2 separate regions of the Homo sapiens genome follow, and region 2 is linked to region 1. Evidence: promoter capture Hi-C in 16 types of primary human blood cells and fetal thymus (Javierre and others, 2016). All regions are on one chromosome and are shown on one strand. The core of a region is centred on a gene start or on the middle of the fragment in contact, and the rest is flanking DNA. Distances in the headings are between cores, read along the strand shown.

Region 1 (3,086 bases), core at 319-2,818:
CTGAGTCACATCAGCTGGCAGCACTCAACCCCCTTACTGGCCAGTTCTAGGGGTAGGAGGAAGGGGCCAAGATTTGATCTCCTCACTACCTGGGGTAGAACAGCTTGTAGGGCTGAGGACTGAGGCTCCTTAACCCTTAACCCCCACCTTTAAGCAACTTATCCTTTTTGAAAGGGTAATAGAAGGTGGGGGTGCATACCTCGTTTCGGGAGGCAGCAGCACGATGAAGAGGGGTCAGCCACAGTGTGTCCTTAGCATTGACATTAGCACCTGTGGGGATATAATTTCCTATTTTGATGGAAGGTGGGGAGGAGGTATGAAGGAAGCCAGTAATCAGGCCAGGAAATCTGAATGGAGCTGGAGCCTCGCCTGGACCAAGCCGGGGAGAGCAATCCTTGAATATCAAAAAAGACTCCTCCCCTCCCTTCGCTCCCTATGTGCCACACCTTCCAGCTCCCCACTTTCACCTGACATCAGTAGCAACTGGAGGATGGGGACATCGCCTACGTAGGCAGCAGCATGCAATGGAGTTCGCCTCTCTTGGTCCTGGGAAGGCAAAAAAGAGCAGGGAGTATGGGCGCGGGGTAAGGGGGCTATCAAGGACCCCAGCCCAAGTCTCAGAGCTCCAGGCCCTTCCCCACAACCTCTTCCCATAGTTTCTGCAGCGTCCTAAGTCCCGGTATTGGGAGTCAAAGGCAAGCACCTAGGGAGGGTGGAGTCAGGGCCAATGGGCTGAGAAGCCGGCTCCTTTTTCCAGGAGGGGTGGGGGCGCTGCAGACTCCGGAGGTTGAGAAGAGAACAACGTTCCTGGGCATTCCCAGCCCAAGTGATCTGGGCTTCAAGCCTGACCTGCTCTCCATCCCCAAATGCAGAGTAGGCTTTCACTCCAGGATGGAAAGAACTGCGGCCTCATCTGAGCAGAGGAGACACGGAGCCGCCCCACCGGTGGGGAGGGGTCCAGAACACGGGAGCCAGGATTCCGGTCTCGCCATCCTCCCTGCTCCCAACTCACCAGCACATTGATGTTCTCCTTCTGCGAGAGTAGGGAACGCACTTCCTCCACATCTCGGCTAAAGATGGCCTGGACCAGGGGCGGCTGCAGAGAGAACCGGCATTCTGAGAGCGGGCTGGAGCCGGAGCGGAACCGGTGTGGGGGTGGGGGTGGGGGAGCACCTAGGTTTGAGTGGGGGGCGTCCGTGGAGGGGCTCCACTCTAGGGATTCTGGCTGGAGCGAGCTCCCGCGGTGCCTCCGCCGGTTGCCAGGTCCCCAAGGACACCGGCTCGGTTGAGGGGAGCGCGGCATGGGGCGGGGCGGGAGCTGCGGGAGCCCCGGGCTCAGGCCCAGCCTAGGCCGCACATCCCCGGGCTCGCGTGACGGCAGCGCCGAGCCCTGGAAGGAGGAAGCGGGAAAGGGCAGGAGGGCTGACCTGGTCCGTGATGCTGAGGATCCCCATGGCTCGGCCCGGGCTCCGTCCGCATCGAGCTCCCGGCGGCGGCGGCGGCGGCTCCACCGGGGACACGGAGCGGCCCAGGCGGCGGCTGCGGTGGCGGCTGCAGGGAGAGCGCGGCCCCGCCTACCGGGGGGCGGGCGAGTTGGAGGCCGCAGCGCTCCCTGGCGGCCGTCCTGGTCCCGGCGCTCCCCGCGCAAACGGACCCCGGCCGCAGCGCCCTCCGCCCCACCCTGGCGGCCCCAGCAGCCCCTGCACCCCCGAACTCGCGCGCCGGCTCCCCGGCTCACGCAGCTGGCCGCGCTGTGCTCTCCGCTCCAGTCTGGCGGCCCAAGGGGTTCCCCACAAGACCCTAGCGGAAACCTGGGCCTTAGTCCCGCGGTGCTTCCCAAACTGAGGACCGAACGGCTGGCCAGATCTTACCCAGCCCACAATGCTCCCGCCCGAGCTAACTCCTCCCGTCAGCGATTCCACACCCCGAAATCCCCCACAGACTAGGAGGAACTGGCGGGTGGAGAACTGGGAATTATGTATGGCAATAGCCCCAGAGGGAGGGAAAGCGTGTATCTCCACTGGCGGAGGCGTGAGTTCGGTAGAGAAGAAATAGCAAAAGTGCTCAAACTGCAGAGAAACCCCAAGGAGGATTCTACTGCAGAAAACACCCACAAAGAGGCCATGACAACTGGCAGCTGGAAAAGGCCGCCAAGACCAACAGAAGGGGCATTTTCCAACTCCTTACTGATTCCATTGCAAGGTTAAAGTGGAAAACACTCAACAATTTCTCCCCAGAACAGCCTGTGGCGCTTCCCCTCCTCCAATGGAGAGGCCAGAGAGCCGTCAATTAGAGAAGAAATGAATGGAGGTCATCTCAACCCAGAAACGGAAAAAGGAGGAAGACGAAAAGTGGAGATTGAAAAATTGATACAATTTATAAAAGGTGATCCAGGGTCCTGTTCAGAGTTTCACAACTCAATACACATTGAAGAGAACACGAAATGGACGAAGTGCAGCATGCTGGCGTCCTGTCAAGGCTTTATATATAAAAATCCTCCCTTGAGGGGAGAGGAAAAAAATTAAAAAATAAAAATACATTTTATTTTATTTTTTGAGATGGAGTTTCACTCTCGTCCCCCAGGCTGGAGTGCAGTGGCACGATCTCGGCTCACTGCAACCTCCGCCTCCCGGGTTCAGTGATTATCCTGTCTCAGACTACCAAGTAGCTGAGACTACAGGCGCCCGCCACCCTGCCCGGCTAATTTTTTATTTTAGTAGAGACGGGGGTTTCACCATGTTGGTCAGGCTGGTCTCGAACTCCTGACCTCAGGTGATCCACCTGCCACGGCATCCCAAAGAGCTGGGATTACCGGCGTGAGCCACCGCACCCGGCGAAAATACATTTCAAAAAAGCCTTCCCGGCCGGGCGCGGTGGCTCACGCCTGTAATCCCAGCACTTTGGGAGTCCGAGGCGGGTGGATCACGAGGTCAGGAGATCGAGACCATCCTGGCTAACACAGCGAAACCCCGTCTCTACTAAAATACAAAAATCAGCCGGGCAGGGTGGCGGGCGCCTGTAGTCCCAGCTGCTTGGGAGGCTGAGGCAGGAGAATGGCGTGAACCCGGGAGGTGGAGCTTGCAGTG
Region 2 (3,086 bases), core at 395-2,894, 80 kb before region 1:
AGTAGAGATGGGGTTTCATCATGTTAGCCAGCATGGTCGCGATCTCCTGACCTTGTGATCCGCCCGCCTCGGCCTCCCAAAGTGCTGGGATTACAGGCGTGAGCCACCACACCCAGCCTTGTTCATTAATTTTTTTAGATACGGGGTCTTGCCGTGTCAGCCAGGCTGGAGAGCAGTGGTGTGATCATGGCTCACTGCAGCCTCAAACTCCTGGGCTCAAGCAATCTTCCCATTTCAGCTTCCGAAGTAGCTGGGACCACAGGTATGCCCCACCAGGCCCAGCTAATTTTTTTTCACTTCTTTAGAGATGGGAGTCTTGCTATGTTGCTCATGCTATTCTTGAACTCCTGGCCTCAAGGAATCCTTCTGTCTCAGTGTCCCAAGTAGCTGGGATGATTTACAGTCGTGAGCCACCGTGGCTCCTACACTTCTTTCCCAGTGAGCCCTCTCCATCCCTTAATTTATATAAACTGGTCTTCTATTAGTTCCTTCTCTTGTTTTTCTATTAAAACCTACTCTCAGGAACCAGCCTGGTAATAGTAATTTACACTTTAATCAAAACTTTTGTGCTAGGAATATCTGCAGTATAGACGATATCAGTAATATGGATTTAAAGGCTCTATACCCTGTTAAAAAGAAGTTGAGGCACTGGAGTAGGTACTTGTTATGTATAGAACATGCTTAATATCACCCTTGGGCAAATCCTAAAGAACATGTGTCTACATGCTAGGCCAGGGCTGCCTAAAGGCAGATATTGTGCCTTTGTAAGCCTAGCATAGTGCCTGGCTCATGGAAGATGCTCAAGAAATGTTTGCTAAACTGAATGTTACTGGATCAGGAAGGGTGAATGTGGGGACAGGAGGGAGAAGGAGAATCATGAGATGAGATTTCCTTACATCTCTGGAGTCTTGGACTTGTTCTTGCCGTTGAAGAACTCGGGGAGAGCCCTCCGCTCAATGGCATGAACACTGCAAGAAAAGCCAGAATGGTTTCAGAAGAAGGCATTGGTGAAGGGATGGGGGCCCCAAAGGGAGGAAAAGCCTAGAAGGCAAAGAAGGAAAAGAGCTCGAAATTGCTGAAGTTAGAAGCTTGGGGAGAACATCCCACAGGCTGTAAGACTCAAAAGGACACAAGGAGCTCCCCTAAAACTAAAGTGTACTCTGGTCTATTTGGGTGAGGAAAAAATAACTTATTTGGAGGAGGCAGGGAGAAGAACAGCCTGTTGACCCCTGGAGGCAGGGAAATAAGGACTCAGTGAGAAGTTGGGGACAACCATACCTATTGTAGTCAAACCAGGCAGCGTAGCTGGGAATGATGATGTGGTGGGTCTGTTCAGTCACATTGTCCTCATGCAGGTCTGGATTCTTGGTCTGCTCTCCCTTGTTCCCCGTACTGTTCTCATCCTCATCCTACGAGTATGGAGGCTGCTGGACACTCAGCATTCCTGCTTCCTCCCTAGCAACCCTCTGCTTCTCCCACACCCCAGGAATGTGGACACTAAAGATGGGTGATGGGACTGAGCAGTCATGGGCCCCAGGACTCTGAAAGGGTCAGAGTTTTGAACAAAGCTGGAATTAGTCTACAGTGGGTAAAGTCTGGGCAGTGAAAAGTTTGGGCAGAATGAACTTTATAATCACAAATCAGAATCACATAGAGAGGTAGGGCCTCTCTAAACTGGCTCCACCTTGCCCGTCGTCTCCATGCTTTCATCTTCCTGTTCATCTGAAAGAGAAAAACCAAGATGTAAGGCTGGAGCCTCCTGAGGGGCAAGAAAGCCCTACCAAAAGCCCATCAGGCTAGCGAAAAGGGGGCAGCTGAGCCCTCCCCTTCCCTTGGCTCTGACTGCCGTGCCCAAGAGGCTCCTGTCTTACCCAGGTCGGTCATGGTGCCGCCTTTGACTGGGGCCGACTCTGAGTCTTTCTTTGTGTTGACTGCGAAAACAGAGAGTCATTTTATCAGACAGATTTTGCCTAATTCAAGCCTTCAATTTAATAGTTCCAGACATCCTACTTTCTCCAAAAATTGTCTCCACCTGATTGCAAAATATAGTAATTCTCTCCAGTCACAATTATTCTAGGGCTTCAAACTTCTTGCTACTTTCCCCACTTCTCCAACCAAAAATTAATTTAACTTATTTCTCTATGTACATTCATAAATGATTCTTGTCTTTGACAGGCCTTTATCTCCATCTATGTATCTGTAAGCTTTTAATGGTCTGATACTGAATCTGACCAAATCACTCTGTGGAAGAATGGTTAAGTGTTAAACATTTTTGAAAGCAGAGGATACTTTCCTCAACTGAATTCATATACATATGCTCAGGAGCAAACATAGAGAAGAGAGAGAGCTGATTGATGAGGAGGTAGAAGCCAGAACTCTTCTTGGTGGCAGCCCTAATCCTACCCCTGAAATACACTTCTGGAATACCTGGGGTGAGTCTACAGAATACAGACTGTAAACCAGTATTGGTGGAGCAATGTCTCCAAAGTGGGGTTCTAACATAGGACGCAAAAGATGATCCACTGCAACTCAGGGAGAGAATACAGAACTTCTCTTCATGTTTTTTGTTTTGTTTTTTTGAGACGGAGTCTCGCTCTGTCGCCCAGGCTGGAGTGCAGTGGTGCGATCTCGGCTCACTGCAACCTCCACCTCCCAGATTCAAGTGATTCTCCTGCCTCAGCCTCCCGAATAGCTAGGATTACAGGCGCCCACCACCACGCCTGGCAAATTTTTGTATTTTTCGTAAAGATGGGGTTTCACCGTGTTAGCCAGGATGGTCTTGATCTCTTGACCTCGTGATCCGCCTGCCTCGGCCTCCCAAAGTGCTGGGATTACAGGCGTAAGCCACCGCGCCCTGATTCTTCATGTTTGTTTTTATCATTCTTTACATTTTTCAATTTTTTAGATATGTTTGTGTTTTAAAACGTTCCCATGGTAGCGGCTTAACAGTACAAGTACATAATTAATGCATATATACATTTTTTTTTCTTTTTTTTTATTTGAGATGGAGTCTCGCCCTGTTGCCCAGGCTGGAGTGCAGTGGCGTGATCTCAGCTCACTGCAAGCTCCGCCTCCCAGGTTCACGC

The links. Contacts are between HindIII fragments. The CHiCAGO score rates a contact against its expected background, and 5 or more counts as called.
Region 2: a contact is called between a fragment that was not itself captured here and the fragment with the promoter of ANKRD52 in region 1, in 2 of 17 cell types (endothelial precursors and erythroblasts). The highest score is 6.8, in endothelial precursors.

What each region holds. Positions count from the first base shown.
Region 1 is chr12:56,256,816-56,259,901 of GRCh38, forward strand. It overlaps ANKRD52 (ankyrin repeat domain 52), which reads right to left and starts at 1,569. Exons shown (of 28, transcript NM_173595.4): 1 at 1,428-1,569; 2 at 1,013-1,096; 3 at 468-546; 4 at 200-270. The coding sequence starts at 1,454. RefSeq lists enhancers at 1-571, 878-927, 1,008-1,057 and silencers at 1,118-1,187, 1,208-1,757, 1,768-1,827. The HindIII fragment of the contact is 14,479 bases long and covers 1-3,086 here.
Region 2 is chr12:56,177,126-56,180,211 of GRCh38, forward strand. SMARCC2 (SWI/SNF related BAF chromatin remodeling complex subunit C2) reads right to left here. Exons shown (of 29, transcript NM_001330288.2): 12 at 1,872-1,931; 13 at 1,685-1,722; 14 at 1,279-1,409; 15 at 897-968. Among named protein-coding and RNA genes, the nearest start is that of SMARCC2, 11 kb to the right of the region's middle. The HindIII fragment of the contact is 1,116 bases long and covers 1,087-2,202 here.